Regions from separate parts of the Homo sapiens genome. Here all the other regions are linked to region 1. Evidence: promoter capture Hi-C in 16 types of primary human blood cells and fetal thymus (Javierre and others, 2016). All regions are on one chromosome and are shown on one strand. The core of a region is centred on a gene start or on the middle of the fragment in contact, and the rest is flanking DNA. Distances in the headings are between cores, read along the strand shown. Region 1 holds the start of TMBIM4 (transmembrane BAX inhibitor motif containing 4). Region 2 holds the start of CCT2 (chaperonin containing TCP1 subunit 2). Region 3 holds the start of CNOT2 (CCR4-NOT transcription complex subunit 2). Region 4 holds the start of LYZ (lysozyme).

What was found. The method cuts DNA at HindIII sites, captures the fragments that hold promoters and counts their contacts. A CHiCAGO score of 5 or more calls a contact.
Region 2: a fragment that was not itself captured here is called in contact with the fragment with the promoter of TMBIM4 in region 1 in 3 of 17 cell types (non-activated CD4 T cells, naive CD8 T cells and activated CD4 T cells); the score reaches 8.7 in non-activated CD4 T cells.
Region 3: the fragment with the promoter of CNOT2 here is called in contact with the fragment with the promoter of TMBIM4 in region 1 in 2 of 17 cell types (naive CD8 T cells and naive CD4 T cells); the score reaches 8.1 in naive CD8 T cells.
Region 4: a contact is called between the fragment with the promoter of LYZ here and the fragment with the promoter of TMBIM4 in region 1, in 1 of 17 cell types (non-activated CD4 T cells). The highest score is 6.2, in non-activated CD4 T cells.

What each region holds. Positions count from the first base shown.
Region 1 is chr12:66,167,323-66,172,621 of GRCh38, reverse strand. It overlaps TMBIM4 (transmembrane BAX inhibitor motif containing 4), which reads left to right and starts at 2,626. Exons shown (of 7, transcript NM_016056.4): 1 at 2,626-2,767. The coding sequence starts at 2,671. RefSeq lists enhancers at 2,645-2,724, 2,368-2,892, 3,375-3,474. The HindIII fragment of the contact is 2,376 bases long and covers 951-3,326 here.
Region 2 is chr12:69,583,518-69,588,846 of GRCh38, reverse strand. It overlaps CCT2 (chaperonin containing TCP1 subunit 2), which reads right to left and starts at 3,388. Exons shown (of 16, transcript NM_006431.3): 1 at 3,323-3,388; 2 at 2,503-2,577; 3 at 2,029-2,094; 4 at 1,231-1,342; 5 at 841-917; 6 at 585-697. The coding sequence starts at 3,325. It overlaps MIR3913-1 (microRNA 3913-1), which reads left to right and starts at 4,024; the gene lies at 4,024-4,125. It overlaps MIR3913-2 (microRNA 3913-2), which reads right to left and starts at 4,124; the gene lies at 4,025-4,124. RefSeq lists an enhancer at 3,018-3,357. The HindIII fragment of the contact is 1,624 bases long and covers 1,091-2,714 here.
Region 3 is chr12:70,240,338-70,245,616 of GRCh38, reverse strand. It overlaps CNOT2 (CCR4-NOT transcription complex subunit 2), which reads right to left and starts at 2,184. Exons shown (of 16, transcript NM_014515.7): 1 at 2,137-2,184. PRANCR (progenitor renewal associated non-coding RNA) reads left to right here and starts at 2,257. Exons shown (of 5, transcript NR_120460.1): 1 at 2,257-2,305; 2 at 2,724-2,793; 3 at 3,388-3,436. RefSeq lists enhancers at 1,455-1,594, 2,325-2,524, 1,699-2,898 and silencers at 1,895-2,154, 2,226-2,765. The HindIII fragment of the contact is 4,785 bases long and covers 1,424-5,279 here.
Region 4 is chr12:69,346,501-69,351,689 of GRCh38, reverse strand. LYZ (lysozyme) reads right to left here and starts at 3,309. Exons shown (of 4, transcript NM_000239.3): 1 at 3,146-3,309; 2 at 1,418-1,582. The coding sequence starts at 3,281. The HindIII fragment of the contact is 11,988 bases long and covers 1-5,189 here.

The DNA of each region.
Region 1 (5,299 bases), core at 1,377-3,876:
CTGATCAACTTTTCATATATTAGCCACTTGGCTGTGTGTGTGTGTGTGTGTTAGGTTCCTGTTTCAGTCTTTTTTCCTTCTTTTTTTTTGTTTTTGAGGTGGAGTTTCGCTCTTGTTGCCCAAGCCAGAGTGCAATGGCGCGATCTTGGTTCACCACAACCTCCACCTCCCAGGCTCAAGCAATTCTCCTGCCTCAGCCTCCCGAGTAGCTGGGATTACAGGCATGTACCACCATGCCTGGCTAATTTTGTATTTTTAGTAGAGACGGGATTTCTCCACGTTGAGGCTGGTCTCGAACTCCTGACCTCAGGTGATCCACCCGCCTCAGCTTCCCAAAGTGCTGGGATTACAGGCATGAGCCACTGCGCCCGCCTCCAGTCTTTTGTCTATTTTTCTATTGACTGTCTTTTTTTGGTCTGGATTTGTAACAATTGTTTTTATATTCTGAAAAGGAGCCTTAGGTAGGTTATATGTATAGCAGATATCTTCCCCTACTCTATGGCTTCCTTTTCACTCTCTTATGGTATATTTTGATTACTAGAAATTCCTAATTTTAATATAATTTAATTTGGCAATCTTTTCATTTGAAGTTAAGTGCTATTTTGTATCTGGTTTCAGAAATCTTTGCCTTCCTCCAAATCATATTCTCCTGTATCATTTTCTTTAAGTTTTATTGTTTTTGCCTTTCACATTTATATCCACAATCTATCTGGAATTTATTTTTTTTTGTAACTGGTAAGAGGTAAAGGATCAAACTTTGCTGATGCTGTTTTTAGTCAATACAAAGGTGGGTTCCCAATTTAGCTCCAGTTTGTCCTCTATAATAAATTCCATTATTACGGCGGGGCAGAGAAAGAGGGGATGGCTTCGGGTTAGGATGGGAGAGAAAACGGATTACATTCCCAGTGTCATCTGAAGTAAAACTTTTCTCAGATTTTTCTCAGCAAGCTTTTTAAGTCCTCTCACCTGGAGAGTGACTAAAGAGATAGAGGCCATATCCCATTCACCTATCCATTCAACAAACTAAACTAAAACGAGGGGCCGGACACAGTGGCTAACGCCTGTGATCTCAGCACTTTGGGAGGTCGAGGTAGGGGGATCACTTGAGCCCAAGTTCGAGACCAGCATGGGCAACATGGCGAAATTCCGTCACTACAAAAAATACAAAAAATTACCCGGGGGTGGTCACCTGACCTCAGGAGGTCAAGGCTGCTGTGAGCCGAGATAGAGCCACCGCACTCCAGCCTGGGTGACAGACTGAGACTCTATCTCAAAACAAACCAACAAAAACAAATTAAAATGATATGCTTGTAAAATGTTTGTAAAATCATAAAAGATAAAGTGTTTTTTTGTTTTGTTTTGTTTTTCTTGTCATTGTGGAAGTGACGTTAGTTCTTTTGGCAAAGGCTTCTGAGAACATCAAGTTTAAGGATTTAGTTTAGAATAGACTGTTCCACAACTGTTCTGAATTCCACTTGCTAAGTGTTCGGGTGTTGTGGTTAAGGTGAGGACTGGGCAATGTGGGTAGATCAGAGTAAACTCATCAAAACAATTCCAAGGGACCCTAGGATGACACTACTCTGGGTATGTCTACACCTCTTTATATTGGAATGACAACAATATCATGAATATTCACTCTAATCCATTGTATTTGCCACCATCATCTCTCTCTTACAGTAATACAACTTTATCCCCTTTTCTCTGCCTTTGGTAATGGCCCTCTTCAATGTATTCTACTTCTGGCCTAGGATGATCTGGCCTTTGTTTATCTATCCAGCCTCATTCTTTGCCACCTGTCCCCTACACCAGCTGAGCTTCACCGTCTCCCTCTTTGCAGACGTTGGTCCCTTGAGGCCCAGCCTACATCACTGCTCTTTCTCTGGTTGGCTCCTACTTGCCTTTCAGGATTAAATATTACTTCATTCAGAAAGCCTGGTTTATAGAAAGTGCTCAATAAATGTAGGTATTATTATTATTTTAAAATAATAGAAGTAAAAATGCATCCTCGGTGTGATTATTGAAAAAGTGGATGAATGAGATGGGTATTTGTTGAGTGGATGGGTGACTGGGACATGGGTTCTATCACTTTAGCAACTCTCCAAGGTGAAAGGACTTAAAGTGTGTTCAGGCTGGGCGCGGTGGCTCACGCCTGTAATCTCAGCACTTTGGGAGGCCGAGGCGGGCGGATCACGAGGTCAGCAGATCGAGACCATCCTGGCTAACATGGTGAAACCTCGTCTCTGCTAAAAATATAAAAAAATTAGCCTGGCGTGGTGGCAGGCGCCTGTAATCTCAGCTATTCGGGAGGCTGAGGCAGGAGAACCGCTTGAACCCGGGAGGCGGAGGTTGCGGTGAGCCGAGATCGTGCCATTGCACTCCAGCCTGGGCAACAAGAGTGAAACTCCATCTCAAAAAAAAAAAAAAAAGTGTGTTGAGAAAAGTTTCACTTCAGATGACGCCGGGAATGTAAACCGTTTTCTCTTCCATTCTAACTCGGAGCCATCCCCGCTTTCTCCGCCCAGCTGGAATTTTTGAAGCGAGAAAATCGACTCGCTCGGTGTTCGCCCGCCGACGCCGCACGGCTTGCTGGGGCTGGGCTCTTCCTCGCGGAAGTGGGGAGGAGGCGGTTGCGGTTAGTGGACCGGGACCGGTAGGGGTGCTGTTGCCATCATGGCTGACCCCGACCCCCGGTACCCTCGCTCCTCGATCGAGGACGACTTCAACTATGGCAGCAGCGTGGCCTCCGCCACCGTGCACATCCGAATGGGTACGTTGTCCCCTCTCCAGTGCCTCCCAGCCGCTTGTCTGCACTGCTCGGCCTCTAGAAGCCGACTTCCGGCTTCCGAGGGAGAGCGGCCATCTCCTGGGACTCACAGGGAGTGCTCACTGAGCTCCCGGCCCTCCTTCTCCGGGTACCAGAGGACTGGCGCCCTCCTCAGGGAGTCGGGGAGGCGCTTCCTCCCCTCCTAGCGGGTGTGGGAGGGCGCCAGGCCCAGAAGGCTTGCGGCTGTCCTGTGTGCGCCCCGGCTCCCCAGCGGGCGCCGCGGTGTAGGAAGGGACAGATGGAAACCGCCGCAGCCTGAATTTGGCATCTTGAAGTGAAAAGAAACGTCGTGGAAATGAGTCGGTTGATCACTGTGACTGACGTACACACGAGTGGAATCCACGGCCTGATGTTTTTGTTCTGTGGGGTTTCGCGTTACAGGCTTATATTTACCGTCCTGTGCTAGGCTGGAAGCTCCCTGACGGCACTATTTCCTCTCCGCAGGGCCCAGAATGCAACAGGTCTTTGAGGATTATTGAGGAAGTTGCTCAACACAGAAGCTTCCTAAGTCAGTCTAAATTGTGTTTTAAGTTATTACGTAGTAGCCAATGGGCAGAAATTTTTGAATTTAAAATGCTCAGCTTCATCTACGTGGAAGCCATTGCCTGCTCTAGTTTGGTCATTTGATCGCCGAAACAGCCCCAGACTTTCAGCCTGTTTAGGCAGCTGGAACTTGTTCTGGAAAAGGAAAGATGAAGATAGTTCTGATGTGCTAAGAATCTTAGTGCCTAGAACTTGTTCTGGAAAAGGAAAGATGAAGATAGTTCTGATGCACCAAGAATCTTGGTGCCTAGCATTTATATTTTTGGAATTGAATTTTGAAATTATTTTGGCCAGTGAACTCAGCTTTTTTTTAAAAAAAATTAATTGTGGTAAAATACAGGTAACATAAAATTTACCGTCTTAACTATTTTTAAGTGTATAGTTCAGTAGTGTTAAGTTATTCACATGGTTGTGCACTGTTAAAAGAAAAACTTTAGACACATTAAATCTAACGGAGTTTGAGCACAGAATGATTTGCGAATTGGGCAGGTCCCGGAACCAGAATAAGGTTCAGAGTGATGAGTCCTGCCGCTTGGTGGGAGAAAATTTATGGAGAGAGAAAGTAAAGTGAGGTACAGAAAATAGAAGTGAGGTACAGAAAGAGTTGATTGGTTACAGCTTGGTTTTTGCCCGTTTGAACATGGTTTGAACACGTGGCCATCTTTGGCTGAAACTCAGTGATTGGTTCAAGCGTAGGTTACAGCCTGTTTACTAGGTTATAGTTCACTATATACCGAGAACCCCTAGGCTGAACTTAAAATATCTAAAGGCATAGCTTTAGACTAAACTTATATACCATCCAATATCCAGAACTTTTTAATCTTGCAAAACTGAAACTCTATACCTATTAACTCCCCATTCCTTCCTTCCCCCAGTCCCTGGAACCACCATTTCACTTTCTCTCTCTGTGAATTTGGCTACTCTAGATACAATCAGTATTTGTTTTTTTGTGGTTGGCTTTTTTCAATTAGCATAATGTCTTCAAATACATCCATGTTGTGGCATATGTCAGAATTTCCTTTTTTTTTTTTTTTGAGACAGGGTCTCGCTTTGCCACCGAGGCTGGAGTGCAGTGGTGAGATCACTGCTCACTGCAGCCTCTACCTTCTGGGCTCAGGTGATCCTCCCGCCTCAGCCTCTCGAGTAGTTGGGATTACAAATGCAGGTCACCAGGCCTGGCTAATTTTTTTGTACTTTTGGTAGAGACGGGTTTCTCCATGTTGCCCCATCCGATCTTGAACTCCTGGACTCAAGCGATCCTCCCACCTCAGCCTCCCAAAGTCCTGGGATTACAGGCATGAGCCACTGCACCTGGCTGCAGAATTTCCTTTTTAAGACAGTAGTAGTACTTTGTATGTATATACCAAATTTTGTTTATTCATCCATTGATGGACATTTGTGTTGCTTCTACCTCTTGACTACTTTGAATAGTGCTGTCATGAATATAGGTGTGCACATACCTCTTCAAGACCGTGCTTTAATTCTTTTGAATATATACCCAGAAGTGGAATTGCTGGATTGTGTGGTAGTTCTATTTTTAATTATTTAAGGAACGGCCATACTGTTTTTGATAGGGGCTACATCATTTTACATTCTCAGCAACAGTGCACAAGGGTTCACCTTTTTCTACATCCTTGCCAACACATTCCGTTCTTTTCTTTCTTTTTAAAATGAAAATAGCCATCAAATGAGTGTGAGGTGGTATGTCCTTTTGGTTTTGATTTGCATTTCTCTAATGATTTAATGATGTTGCACATTTTAAAAGTATGCGTGTGGGGCATTTATACATTTTCCTTGGAGAAATGTTATTCAAGTCCTTTGCCCAATTAATTTTTTAAAAGCAATTTTAGGTTCATAGCAAAATTTAGCAGAAAGAACAGAGTTCTTATATACCCTTTCTGCTTTTCCCCAAGCCTCTTGCACTAATAACGT
Region 2 (5,329 bases), core at 653-3,152, 3.4 Mb before region 1:
GACCTTTTTGGCACCAGGGACTGGTTTCATGGGAAGACAATTTTTCCACCTGCTGCTCACCTGCTGTGCAGCCCAGGTTTGGGGGTGCCTTAAAACACACACACTTACCTTTGGACCCAACAATTACACTTCTAGAAACCTTTGGGCTATGTCGCAACGTCACAAAGTTATTTTATAATGCTAAAAATCATCAAATACACAAATCTCCCCCTACAGATAGGTTAATACAGTCATTCTAGCCAAATATTCAAATGTGTAACTCTATTAAAATACTGCACAGAAAATTGACATCCAAAAATGTGCTTAATATTTAACTAGGTTAAAAAGAGGCTAACAAATTCTCTATACAGTATTATACTATTTGCTTTATTTGTATATTTTGATGATATATACAAAAAGACTAAAAACCCAAACTTAACTTTAGTGGCTATCTCTGGAGGCTGATGTAGGTTTGACTGTTGGAGTGGGGTGAGGCAGCAAGATGATCTTTGTGTATGCTTTTCAGTGTCCTATAGATTTCTTGCATTAAGCATGTTATGAAAGAACACTAAATGTTTAGAACAGTAGTACTTTGCTATACAAACCCATGATCAACTGCAGAACTCAACAGCGCCTCTCTTGCAGCCTTCGTGGCTTCTCTCCAACCCGCTATGATGGTCTGTGGATGAATCTTTTTTGCAATTAAAGATTCTGCTTCCTATTAATAAAGTTATAAAACAAAAGTTATAAATAGAAAATTATTAAGCACTCCTCAATAGTAAAGACAGAGGAAGTAAGGACTAGATTACCTCTGATACTCAAAAACACAGTAGGAAAAAAGAGTTGCTTAGTTGCTCTTACCCTTAATAATTCTGCTGCTAAAACGGTAACAGAGGTAGTGCCATCACCAACTTCATCATCTTGAACCCTTGACATATCTAGAAAAAGAAATTAGTTATTAACTCAAAATTGCTTCTTTGCTTACTAAATTCTCCAAAAATATTCACTACCAATCTAAACTTACCAGGGTTCCTCATTCAACAAATTATTTGGAACTCTGAGGTCTGAAATGCAACAGTTTTACCACCAACATACGGGCACTCCTGAAGCTTGTATTTTAACAACGATAATTAACAACTAGTGGACATCAATTGACAGTACGATTGGTCAACACAGCCTATTTATAAAGTTATTTCAAAAATGTTAACAAACAGTATTATTAGGTTGGTGAAAAAGTATATTCAGACTTACCAACTAAAACTTTAGCTGCTGGATTGTCAACACCAATGTTTTTTAGAATAGTGGCACCATCATTGGTTACCATAAGAGAGGCATCTCGTCCACTGCTTAGAAGAATTTTGTCCTAAAGGGAACATAATTGGTTCAAGTTAAGACATAAGCACATCTTGAAGAATGCATGGATCAATCAGTATTCTCACACAGTGCTAGTGTATAAACACTCTGGATAGCTATTTTGTGGTATCCATTCATCAAATGTTTTCAATACATACACCACGTAACCAAACCATGTATCTACCCCTAGAAACACTAGAAGCACAGGTAGACACTAGTTTTTGTTTCAACACCGTAACTGCAAAAACAATGGAAAGAAACTATCAATACAGCCATAATTAAATTATAAAATAATTAAGGTACAGGATAATATTTGACAGTTAAAGGGGCAGTGTTATCTACTTACACTGAAAGGAATTTAAAAGAGCAAGCTACAAAAAAGTATTGATAAATAGTATCTGTTTTATAAAACAGTATGTTACATGAGTATAAAATACATAATGAAGTACACATACTTCTACATAAACAGAATATTAGAAGATGTACGTGCAAATGATAACAGTACTTGTCATTGGGGAGGGGCATGGGATTGGGGATGGTGATTCTGGGGACTCTGATTTTTACTAAGGAGAACATACTTGTCTTTTATAATTAAACGTTTTAAAGATTAAAAAGCATTTTAATACGCTTGTTATTATATTTCCACCAAGCGCTCTAAAACAATATTAAAATATAAAACTTTTCTATTTTTCTTACCATGCCTTTGGGTCCCAAGGTGCTCTTTACCAAGTCTCCAATGGCGATGGCACCAATAAAAGAAGTCTGGAGTAAAAACCAAGGAGATTATCAGAATCAACTTTACAGTCTTCAAGTACAGTTTTATCTTTATTTACTTTTTTTTTTTTTTGAGGCAGAGTGTCGCTCTGTCGCCCAGGCTGGAGTGCAATGGCGCGATCTCAGCTCACTGCAACCTCCGCCTCCTGGGTTCAAGCGATCCTCCTGCCTCAGCCTCCCGAGTAGCTGGGATTACAGGTGCCCATCACCACGCCCGGCTAATTTTTGTATTTCTAGTAGAAACGGGGTTTTACCATGTTGGCCAGGCTGGTCTCGAACTCCTGACCTCAGTTCATCCGCCTACCTCGGCCTCCCAAAGTACTGGGATTACAGGAGTAAGCCACCGCGCCTGGCCTCCAGTTTTATCTTTAAAACAATGCTTAGAACAAGGCTTACCAGACGAGCTGTCTCTGCTCTCTCTTCATCAGCTCCTGCCTTAAAGATGTTAACAGGTGCAAGGGAAAGGGACGCCTGAAAAGGAAAACCAAGAGGCATTCCGTTTAAGTACCAATACTCTAACACATACACTGAGGTGCCTTCCACTAGTCTTACAAGTGGACATCTAAGAGAAAACTCATTTACAACAATGTTTTCAATCAAATGAAGCTTCCATCATCGGAGAAAGCATTTAAGTGGGAGAGAGGGACTTGTAGGAGAGCGACATGGCTTTTCGGATTTACAAGGCCCCCGGGAGTATAAATTATACACCAGCGAGATTGACAGTTACGTACAGCGAGACTAAAGACGATCTTGAACTAAGAATGAGGCAGGGAGGGGTTGCAGGCCATCAAGGTGACGCCTGCCGGGCGGGCGAGGGAACGCGGCCTCCATCTTCCACCCTCGGAAGGCTGCGGCCCCTCCACCCTCTGATGGCTCAGACCCCGTCGCTCCAGGCTCCGCCCCTAGAAGGAGGGCGGAGCGGGTCCCACACTAGAAATTTCTTCGCTCCGGGTGAGGCGCGGACCTGGGCTGCCGGGACTATGCAAAGACCTAGGCACAAGGAGACGCTGGCTTTGCGGTCCACCCCTCCCCCTCGTGGTGAGCTCCACCGGCTGGCCTGGCGCAGGCCGCACGCCCCGCGCATGGCTCGCACCATGTGCGGAGGGCCGGGGAGACAGAAACGGAGCCTACGACCCTAGCAGGACAGAGGAAGCAGTGGGGTGGCAAGAGCACGGCGGAGCAGGGGTAGGGCAAGAGGCAGGGGAGTCAGGCTCACCATGGTTCCGAGGAGTTCCGCACACAAGTGAATCCCCTCACAGCTCGTGCTCGGGACCAGCGGACTGAAGGAAGCCGGAAGTGACGCCACACGCCCTACTTCGGGGGGCGGGGCCCCGGCCTGTCGTTACCGCCAGCAGGCGTCCCATTTTGATTGGAGCCCCACGGGCCGGAAACGCAGCCTTTCACACTGGAGGGGGCGTGGCCGCCGCTCCAGAACAAAGAGGCGGCTGCCGCGCGGGTTGCCATAGAAATGGAGTTCTTGCTCACACTTTTTATTTTCTTAAATTTAATCTTTAAACACTTCTATTAAAGTCACACATGTACACAGTTTAAAGTGTTATATACCAATAAGGAAAAACATAATTTATCTGCCTCACCACTTCCTGTCTCCAGGAAAACTGCTTTCAACTTTTTCAGTTTTTTGGAGGGGCTATTTACTATCATATTCCCAGATAATATTATTGCTATGTTAATTTTAAACATTATTTACTGAGTATTACAGAAGAAGACTTCCTTTTCTCTTACTGAATTTTCAGACGTTATTTCTAACTGGACGTTGACTGCCCAGGATAAGGTCTTGTGAACTGAGAGAGACATTTATAGTATTTTATCTTTGCCCTATTTACTCATTTTCAGGAATTTTTGCATTTCGGTCTTTTTTTTTTTTTTCCTCCAATAGTAGAGACGACTTATTAGTCTTTGTTTATAATAAACTGAAATATTTGGGACTGATCTTGATGTCTGCCAAAACCTTGGCAGACATCAAGATCAGTCCCAAATATTTCAGTTTATTATAGACAGTTTTCTACTTTCTCTAAGTTGACGGATGTCTAAAAATTTGTTCTCTAAAAAATTTTTCTGTCATCTACTGATACCCTCTTTTCTCCCTTTGACTAACTGATCGCTTAAGCTCCTCGGCAGGGCGCGGTGGCTCACCCCTGTAATCCCAGCACTTTGGGAGGCCGAGGTGGGCGGATCACCTGAGGTCAGGAGTTGGAGACCAGCCTGGCCAACATGGTGAAACCCTGTCTCTACTGAAAATACAAAAATTAGCCGGGCGTGGTGTGCATGCCCGTAATCCCAGCTACTCAGGAGGCTGAGGCAGGATAATTGCTTGAACCCGGGAGGCAGAGGTTTCAGTGAGCCGAGATCACGCCGCTGCACTCCAGCCTGGGCAACAGAGCGAGACTCTGTCTCAAAACAAAAACAAAACAAAACAAGCTCCTGGATTTTTCTTTTTCTGTTTTGTTTTTTTTAGAGATGGGGTCTTCTATGTTGCCCAGGCTGGCCTGGAACTCCTGGGCTCAAGCAATCTTCCTGCCTTGGTCTCCTGAGTAGCTGGGGTCTCCTGGATTTTTGACATTGCTAACATTAACAGGAATTTTCAATTTTTTAGTTGTTTCTACCCTTCAGATTTCCTCTAAGTGGGTTGATTTCCACCAGGGGTTGGCAAGCTGTGAGGAGTCAAACCCAGCCTGCCAGTTGTTTTTTGTATGGCCTGAGAGCTAAGAATAGTTTTTACATTTTTAAGTGGTTGAAAGAAATCAAAAATTTCCTGACACATGAAAATCCTGTGAAATTAATATTTCAGTGTCCATAAAGCTTCATTGGAATCCATGGGCATACCCATACATATTTACTCTGTCACAATACGATAGCAGAGTTATGTGGCAGAGTTGAGTAGTCATGACAGGTTGAATGGGCCCACAAAACCTAAAACATGTATTATCTAATTCTTTACAGAAAAAGTTTGCTGACCCTGGTTTACAGTATTCCTCAGGTCCAACATGAAAAGGGGAGTTCAGGCTGGACAAATTGTTATTTTAAATCTCCCAAGAGTTTTCTCTTCTTTGTAGGAAAATTTGGTCTTCTTTCAGGAAATGTACTTTCCTAGGCAGATCCCAAATCGCATTCTGGAATGAGAAGATTCACAATAAAAAACTAAGATGCCTGCACAATATTGAAAAAGGTTGTTTTTATTGTGGGCAAAATTACATACCTGGAG
Region 3 (5,279 bases), core at 935-3,434, 4.1 Mb before region 1:
TAAAGTATTATAGAAATTGAAAAATTGTATAGGCTGTATTTGTTGCTTGGTTAAACAGGCAATTCTCATTCCCTGAGATCAGATTAGGTTACAGATATCTCTACATTGTATACTTAGAAAAAGATTCCTGCCAACAAATGTTTACATTAACTTATTTGTATTGATAAAGCACTAATCAAGATGCAAAAAAAACTTCAGCAGTTTCTCACTTCCTCTCTAAAATACAAAGTATTCACAAAAATTATTACAATTCAAGCTCTCAGAAAATATGAGAGAAAAGTACCTTTTTTACAGTAAGGATCTTACAAAGTCAAGAAATAAGTGAGTAGAGTGGAACATGTTTTGTCTTTAAGTGTATTTTGTATTTTTTTCTTTAGATTTAACATTATAATAGAACTACAAACTAAACAAATTCAACATACAGAGCTTACTAATTATCTTGGTCCATTATAAAACATTTCAATGAACTGGGATGTGAATATAGACACTTAACCATTTCAGCCAACTATGATTCTTAACCCTTTCAATCTGCAATAGTTACCTTACAAAATTGTGAGATTTATTCATTGACGTTTGGAAAGAACTGTTGTCAATTATGCCAAGCATTCCCAAACTCAACATCAACCTTGCATGTAAATGGATACTTTAAAATTTCTATCTCATCCCTCACCCCATACTTTATTCTTTCCATTTATATTGCTTCAAAAGGGAAATCAACAGTCACACTTATGATTCCGAGCTCTAAAAATTCCTAATATTAAGCATGACACTAAATATGTTCAACTTTGAACCTTAAATTCAAGTTGGCCTCCCTCGTGAACTGATTTTAACTGAGTACTTTTTACCATTTCGCCAAGAACTAAGGGTTCAAAGCAGTGTACTTAATTATGAGGAATTGCCCAAACGATTTTAAAAGGAGTGGGATTCTCTGACCAAGACTTTTATGAAAATGAAACAAAATATGTTGCACTCAGTCTTCCGGATGTTGAAAAGTGAAGATGTCTCCAAGGATTCGAAGGAAGTTGATGTTTAGGTTCCCTCTGAGAGGGTGGTACCCTTAATGTAAGACTTTTGTGGTAGTAATACCGTACCTACAGGCCTGGAATAAATATAAGGTCTAAAACCTTGGAAATACTTTGTATAAAAGAAAACTCCAATTCTCTTTTGCTAAGGACCACAGTTACCAAGAGTTATCAGCTTTCACCCGGACAGACAACAGTGCTTCAATGAAGAACTACAAAGGCCTCTTTTAACCCTACTCTTTTCTTCTGTTAAACTTTTAAGCGAGACCTACGACAGCAAAAGGTGGAGAGGCCCCTGCGGAAGTAGAAACCCAGGACTTGCAACTTCACAGACAGAAGCGTCTGTGGTTCCTCCGCCGCCCCAGGATCATCCGGACTCAGTCTACGACACTACGGAAGCTTCACCTTCCTGGTGCGGTGGCAGAGGCGGCATCGCAGTTGCATTCCTTCTCCCTCCACCATGCACAGCCTTCGGTATCCCAGGGCCTGCAGGATCCTGACACCCGTTAGCCAGTCCAGTGTCTCCCATCTGACACTTGCAAACACACTAACAGAAATACACATAACTGGCAGATGATATACGTGTATTGAGAGAAGGTAAGAAGCCACAGACAGCACCAGCTGCCGGGAAGGCGGCAGAGCCGTCTAAAGCGGGCTCGAGCTCGTCGGCCACGGCCACGGCCGCTGCCGCCTTCTCTTCTCCCCCAGGAAGCAGCGCGGCGGCAGCGGCTCCTCCGCGCTGGCGGGAGCCTAGGGGAGTGGAGTCTGGGGAAGCCCCACCACTCGCGGATGGGACCGGGCCTAGGATCTGGAGCTGCTGCTGCTGCAGCGGCCCGAGTACAGCGACGCTTTACGTCCGGTCCACCACCACCCCCATACACACCCCCTCCCTCCCTCCACCGCCGCCACCCCCCTCCCCGCCCGCTCCGCTCTCCGTCTCTCGATTGGAGCCGAGACAAAAGCAACGGGAAGCGGTGGGCCGGGACGCTACCGGCGGACCCTGGGCGCGACCGGACCGGCCCCGGGGCATTCCCCCGCCTTGCGGGGGCCCCGAATCTGCCGCCCCCGCCGCGCGCCCCGCTGCCAGACTTCCGAAAATTTACCAAAAACTCACCGCATGAATTTTCTTGTCCCGCGGATCCAAGATGGCGACGTATCCACCGCGGAGGCTGCTGGGAGCAAGACCTTTACCCTCTGACCGCCGCCGTGACCCCCGTCGCTCCGGCTTCCCTCCAGGCGGCAGCGGAAGGTGGGAGCGACGACTGCAAAACGGCAGCGATGGGGTGGGTAGGCAGGCCGCTTTCAGCGCGCTTCTAACAAGGTGGAGAGAGGCGCTTCACTTCCCTACCGCCCTTACCGCCGCTCCGTCTTGTCTCCCACCGACTCACAGGGAGGCTTGCTGCTCCTCCGCGGCCGTTACAGAGAGCGGGGCTTCTGCGGCCGCTACCGTTTCCCTGGGGCTAGGTTGCTTCGCAGAAGGCTCTGGCCCTGAGTCCGAGGGGGACTGCGGGGTCCAGGGGCGATGAATGGTGAGGTGGCTTCAGTCCGCCCTCCCCGGGGACGCTGAGCGTGTTCGTGTTCGTGTTTGTGTTTGTGTTTGTGTTGGACACCCCCGCCCCCGCACGTCCGCCTCGTCACTCCTCCCCTCCTCACTCCCGCCACCTGGAGCGAATCTGATCGTGTCCCTGTTTCCTCCCTCAGCTCCCGCAACCTCCGGAGCTTGTGCGCGTACTTCAGGGACCGGCACCACGTCACCGTCACCTCCTGAGTAGTGAGTTCCCCTCTGATGAAACCACTGGTGTGTTTACTCACCATCCCCACCATTTTTTTTTCCCCAACCTGATGGAAGGAAGTACATAATGGAGAGCAAGTTTTTAAAGCACGGTCGTGTCGTGTGAACTTGCTCTAGCCAAATTAGGTTTATAGCACTTTTTTTGGCTCTCATTACCTCCAGTCCCCACATAAACAAGAGTGACCAGCTGGGTCATCCGCAAGACCGTTTGAAATTATTGTGGCTTGGGTGGAAACTTAAAGGAGTGAAGTATCTGCTTTCCAGAAAAATCGTTGTCATTCAAAGTGAAATTAAACTTGTTTTCTTTGCAATAATTCGCCTTTATTTCCTTGTATATCTGTAAACTCTTCACTTTTTTGTAATTACTAGACAATTCGGACTTAAAAAGAGCCTCAGCATGTGTATTTTGGAATTGTGTAGCTTCATAATGTGAAAATTATTCTTTTCTATTTGAGTAAAGTACAGTTAATTTGAAGTAAATAAAATTTCTATTTCCATTGGTTGTTTCTTTTAAAAAGTCACCTTTTACTTACAAAAGAATCACTGTAATCCAGTTTACATTTATCATTGAAGGTCAAAAGCAAGAAATAGGAAGAAACACAAGCATACTATAAAATAAAAGGTAACTGTCATGTTTTTGAAGGTAAGGTGTTTTGACATATCAGCAGACATTGTGTGAATTTATTTCAACTCCTAGTGGTACTGGTGTAGGTAGAAAATGTTTTGCTTGGTTATTCATTTCATCAAACACTCTACTTCACTGTTTTTTTTTCACTTCAGGAAAATTCGAGGAGGAACAACACATACTAGTGTCTTTCCTTTCTTTCTCCCCGTCTTCTGCAAATAGTCCCTTCCTCTTCCTGCTTTCTCCTCCTTCTCATGTTAACATCTTCAACCATAAGATGGTGTGTTAAAAGATTGAATATACCTCTATGGAATGACTTCCAGAGGGTGTAAGTCTGATATGAGAGTTTTATTACCTTGAGTATTTTACTGGAAGAGATAGAACAACAAACATTTTCATAATAAATGTGTGGGTTAGGAGTGTTAGGAGAAAATACACTGATACTATTACTTTCAATATTTGATACTACTTACTTTGACTCTCACTGAACACCTATTTGTTTAGGATGAATTCACTTTAAGCCGGGTTGAAGAACAAGCCTTTAATTGTCCTATTATTTGTGCCAAATCTATTATAAATTTGTTAAAAAATTTTTAATACCTACCTTAGAGGGTACTCTAGGTATTTAATGAGCTAGCATTTGTTAAAGGCTTGTATAGTAAGAATTCTTATAGTAAGAGTTCTTACCAATAGATGGTATATTTTTTAAATTGTCCTGTTGCATCAAAAAGTTCATCTTTATTGGTAATGTTGATTAAGTTTGCCCATTTGGTAGTTTGGTTTCTTTTAACTATCTTACTAGATTTTCTTACTTTTACCTGAAAAGTAGTCCTTACTAATAGGCACATGTTTTGTATATTTCCAAAATATGTATTATGTTAAATTCTCTGTACACTTTATTTAAAAATTACAGACGTTGAGGGAAAAAAAATACCCTATTAAGGGAAGAATGAGTTTGTGTATAACTTGTAGAAGAAGGAGGCCACCCATTTTTAGAAAAATATGGATGGTATTGAAAATTTTGCCATGGCAAGGGATAAAAAGGACAGGCTTCTCTAATGTGTCTGAAACAACATTTGAATCCCCTTTGTTCATTCCCTAAATCTGCTGCTCCTTTAGAATTCCTGATTTTCATAAATAGTACCACCATTCACTTATTTGCTCAGGCATAAAACTTGGAATTTTCTGATTCTTCACACTCATACAACTCATCAGACAGTACCATCAGTTCTTCCTGACAAATACATTCTGAATTTAGCTACTTATCACTTCCACTGGTACAACCCTTGGGAGCCACCATCATCTGTTGCTGGACCACAGCAATAACCACACTAGTTGCTATCACTTTCTATCTGTACCCTCATGAATATTTTCCCATTTAAACCATTCTCTATATACCAACCAAAGCAATCACTTAAAAAATGTTATTAGGTTATGTCACTCCCTTGTTTAAAACCCTCCAATAGCTTCCTTATGCACACAGAATGAAATCGGAATTCCTTACCATAGCCTTCAAGACTGCATAATCTGGCTCCTGCCCACTTCTCCATCTTCCCAGGAAGCAGCACAGGAAGTTGTTCTCACCCTTCTTACTGCCTCCTTTCTGTCGTGGGCTGTGCTTTTTCTAGTCTGTAGCAGAGTCTGTTAGTTGTCCCCAAAAATTCCTCCATTTTTTTCATAGTAATAGACATGGATACATGGCTACCCAGAACAAAGACTATATTTTGCAGCCTTCCTTGTAGCCATGTAATAGTGCTGGCTGATGGGATGTAAGCAGTATATCATGTGGCACACTTGTAAAACCATCCTTAAAAGATAGTTGGTGCACACCTTCAATGCG
Region 4 (5,189 bases), core at 2,060-4,559, 3.2 Mb before region 1:
ATTAAAAACCGATTTGTATTTGCTGACATGCAAATAATTTTGTGTGATAAGAAGCAAATTGTAAAGCCGTGTGTATAATACAATTTAATTTTTGCAAAAGCACACAGTATTTACATGTTTGTATGTGGGTTTATATGTGTATGATATAATTTAACATTCATACACATGATTGATATACATTCTGGAAGAATATATACCAGAATTTACCCATGGTTATAAACCTCTGGGTAGTAAGATTATGGGTGTTATTTTTCTTATTTGTATTTTCTAATTTTTATTTAATGACCAAATATTATTATATAATATAAATTTTTTTAATTAACTGGATTTTAGAAATAAGATTAATGTTCTTTATTGGGAATTTTAATATTTAACAATTTAATAATATCAACTTTGCAAGATTTCTGCAATATTTTTGACACTGAGGATTCCACATGGTATTTCTATTTTTATGAGTTCAGTAAAATATTTGTTTCACTCCAAATAAATAAATCCTTAAGTTAATTTGTTATTTACAATAATAATTCTACAGGAACTGTATTTTTTGAAGATGTAAACTAAAGAATTTAGAAATGGAATATCATCATGTTCCTAATTCACTTAAAAGTCTCTCAGCAGTAGCCAGGTACAGTGGCTAACGCCTGTAATTCCAGCACTTAAGGAGGCTGAGGTGGGAAGATTGCTTGAACTCAGGAGTTCAAGACCAGCCTGGGCAACACAGAATTTGCCTGTACTAAAAATTTCAAAAATTTGCCAGGCATGGTGGTGCACACCTGTAGTCCCAGCTACTTGGGAGGCTGTGGTGGGATGATCACTTGAGGCTGCAGTGAGCTGTGATGGTGCCACTGCACTACAGCCTGGGGACAGGGAGACCCTGTCTCAAAATAAAACAAAACAAAACCAAACAAAAAACTCTCAGCAAAAAAAAAAAAAAAAAAAAAAAAAAAAAAAAGGCATAGAAGAAGCAACTATGGCAAAATGTTAACAACTTTTAAAGTGCATAATGGGCATATGGCTGTTTATTATACTAATGTCTCTAATTTTCTATACATTTAGAACATTTCATAAAAAAAAAAGTAAAACAATTGAAAAAGGACCATACAACTAAATTATCCCAAAACCTCCCCAAAGTAAGCAGGAGCAATGGCATTGTTCTGGACAAAGCATCAGTAAGGCCATTGACAGTAAATTAATAGGTCATTCCAGAAACTTCTGTATATTAAAAAACATCAACCTTTTATGATACCACTTCTTTAATTTCTTACTCAGGGAATTATGAGGAAAATAATAATGACTTTCTGGAAGTTGAGATGTAGTTTTTCTAGGTCCCTCATGAACCTTTCAAGGCTTTTTCATTTGTATTGAGTCTCAATTCTTGTAAGTATAACCAGATTGGTCAAATATTAGCTTGTCTTACCACTGCAGGATAAATGACAGGCATTAACTGCTCCTGGGGTTTTGCCATCATTACACCAGTAGCGGCTATTGATCTGAAATATCCCATAATCAGTGCTTCTGTCTCCAGCATTGTAGTTTGTAGCTCGTGTGTTGTAACCACTCTCCCATTTGGCCAAACACATCCCTGAAAAGAACTTATTTTTAGTAATAAACAGCAACACTAAGTGACTTATACTCTATAGCAAAATCAGTTCTACTTAGCTACTTCTATTTTACTGATTTGTTTTATAAGTATAAAGATTTACTTATAAAATATCTTAGCACTTTAGTGTTAAGATAAGGGACTTGTAAGAGAATCCTTTTGTAATGCAAATCATCTTGTAACACCAACGAACAATATAACATACTTTTAAAATATTAAAATACATGTTTGTTCCATTGCTTTTACCCTTCCCGTGCTCCCATCCCTCAGGCAACATTCAGCCAAGAACAGAAAAATCAACAGAGCTGTTGAGTAGATTTTGTAAATTCATAGCAGATACATAGGCTGATGGAAAAATGCTTTTTTTAATCAGAAAAACATAAGGATTTTCTGATAGAAATTTTCTTATAATATCTAAAGGTGAATTTGGATATCAAGTTAGAATCTTGAAAACAAGACTATTCCGTGATTTCATCCCTTCACTCATTCATTCAAAAATAGCTATTGAGGGGAAATGTCTGAATTCAATCTGAAAACTACAGAGATTATTACATCGACAACTATGTACTAAACTATAAAATAACTTTTCCTCATGGCACATCTTGAATTGTGTGGGAGAAAATGAAAGATAGTTAATCAAGTAGAGTAGATAAAAATAATAAAACATTTCATGCTGAGTTTCTGGGATCCTATACAAAGAGTGACTGAAGGGAACTAGGTTCCTACTGCTCTTGTGTAGGGAATTCAATATATTCTTTAAAAACATCACTGTTAAAAATCCCATGTCGGCTGGGTGCAGTGGTTCACACCTGTAATCCTACCACTTTGGGAGGCTGAGGTGGGCAGATCATTTGAGGCCAGGAGTTCAAGACCAGCTTGGCCAACATGGTGAAACCCCATCTGTACTGAAAATACAAAAAATTAGCTGGGTGTGGTGGTACACACCTGTAGTCACAGCTACTCAGAAGGCTGAAGCACGAGAATCACTTGAGCCCAGAAGGCAGAGGTTGCAGTGAGCTGAGATCATGCCACTGCACTCCAGCCTGGGCCACACAGTGAGACTGTCTTTAAAAATAAAATAAAATAAAATAAAAATAAAAATAAAAATCCCACATCACGGCAGGGGACTTGAAGACAAGAAAAATACTGCATCACTCTAGGCTCTCAGAGCCCAAGTTCAAAATGGGAAATAACTGGAGTCACATACCAAGGACTTGAGAGAGCTCTGCCAGGTCCTCAAATGTATCTTTCAGTCAGCTTACATGTGCCATTGAATCTCAGGCACCCAGCAAACTTCCTAGCACTAGAACAGTACAACAGGTCCTGTTTTACTTAGAATGGAATTTTCCCCTGCCATGCCCGTATTCCTTTATCGGGTATCTCTGGTTATAAAGAACCAAACTGATGTTTTTAGCCATTGTAAGTATACAAACCCACAAAGAAATAAAACATCTATTCACTCAAAGCCCCTTCTTCTTCTTCCTTCTCTCCTAGTGTCTGTTCCATACGTAGCTAATTCTCTGGAATTATGGAGAGTAGACTTACAGTTTGCTAGGCTGATTCCCCTGTAGCCATCCATTCCCAATCTTTTCAGAGTTCTGGCCAACTCACACCTTTCAAAGACCTTGCCCTGGACCGTAACAGAAAGGAGGACAAGCCCCAGAACAATGAGAGCCTTCATGTTGACTGCTAGGTCAGAGTGCTAGGCTGACCAGGGTGAGCTGGCCCCAGTATTTAACATCTTTTAACTTCCTTCTTCCCCTTGTGGTTTGGGGGCTCCACCCTTTCAGTTGTGTGGAAAACAGGAACTGTCTATTGATCCACTGACTCTAAAGAGATTTTTTTAATGCTTGAAGAGAGATATGCTGATGTCCTAAGAATTAGTCTACAGGAAAATAATGAAATGGAATTGTTTAAAGTACTGGCTCTGGAAGAATTGGGGCATAGCACTACTTCCAAGACAGGAACTTTCTTCTGTTTGATTATGAATTTGAGCAATTATAAAGAAAAAAATGACTATTTTGTGCAGCTTAAAATGAGCTGTGATTTTTGAGTAACATTCAATTTTGTGAAATTGTTTTGTATGCATTCACTTTTTTATATTTATCTTTTTTACTTAAAATTATTTTACATATCTTTTCCACAAAATGGACATGACACATGTGCCTGTTGTCTTAATGGGTGTATAGTGTGACACCACGTTGCTCAGCTAGTTTCTTACTCTAGACTCTTTTTGTTACTATAGCAAATTTTTTATTATTATAAATCAGTGTTTTACTATTATAAATAAGGTTCATGTGAACAACTTTACCAACTACCTTTTTTTTTTTTTTTTTGAGATGGAGTCTTACTCTGTCACCAGGCTGGAGTGCAGTGGCGCAATCTCAGTTCATTGCAACCTCTGCCTCCCGGGTTCAAGCAATTCTCCTGCCTCAGCCTCCCAGGTAGCTGGGACTACAGGCATGTACCACCATGCCCAGCTAATTTTTGTATTTTTAGTAGAGACAGGGTTTCACCATGTGGCCAGGATGGTCTGGATCTCTTGACCTCGTGATCCGCCCGCCTCGGCCTTCCAAAGTGCTGGGATTACAGGTGTGAGCCACCACATCCGGCCTACTTTACCAACTACTTTTCACAATACTTTGCCTCCCCTTTCCATATTAGAACATAAGGGGTCATTAGAAAGCAACAGCATTTTAAAAATAAAACCTACCCAAACATATATCCAACTAAATGCTACCTTTGAAAATAGCAATCTCAGGAGGCTGTGCACAGCTTTTAAAACAATGCTACCAGAACTCAAAAAGAACTGCACTTCTGTATCTGCCTAAGAGGACAGATTCTGAGCCACACAAAGTGTCATCACTTTGTAGTTACCCTTATTTTTCATCAGTGGCCTCTAAAGATTACCAGATTTGGTTTTAAATGACAGTTCAAGGACCCTGTTCAAAAATCAAGAATAATCTCATTTTTCAGGCTAGGCCTAATTTTGATTCTTCAATAATAAATAGGGCCAGGTGCAGTGGCTCATGCCTGTAATCCCAGCACTTTGGGAGGCTGAGGTGGGTGGATCACCTGAGGTCAGGCGTTCAAGACCAGCCTGGCCAACATGGTGAAACTCCGTCTCTACTAAAAATACAAAATTAGCTGGGCGTGGTGGTGCGCCTATAATTCCAGCTACTTGGGAGGCTGAGGCAGGAGAATTACTTGAACCCGGGAGGCGGAGGTTGTGGTGAACTGAGATCACACCACTGCACTCCAGCCTGGGCAACAGAGTGAGACTCTGTCTCAAAAAAAAAAAAAAAAAAAAGAAAGAAAAAAAAAATGGCCAGCTGCGGTGGCTCATGCCTGTAATCCCAGCACTTTGAAAGCCCAAGGCAGGCTGATCACCTGAGGTCAGGAGTTCGAGACCAGCCTGGCCAGCATGGTGAAACCCCGTCTCTACGAAAAATAGAAAAATTAGTTGGGTGTGGTGGTGGGTGCCTATAATCCCAGCTACCTGGGATGCTGAGGCAGGAGAATCGCTTGAACCGAGGAGGCGGAGGTTGCAGTGAGCCGAGATTGTGCCATTGCACTCCAGCCTGGGAAA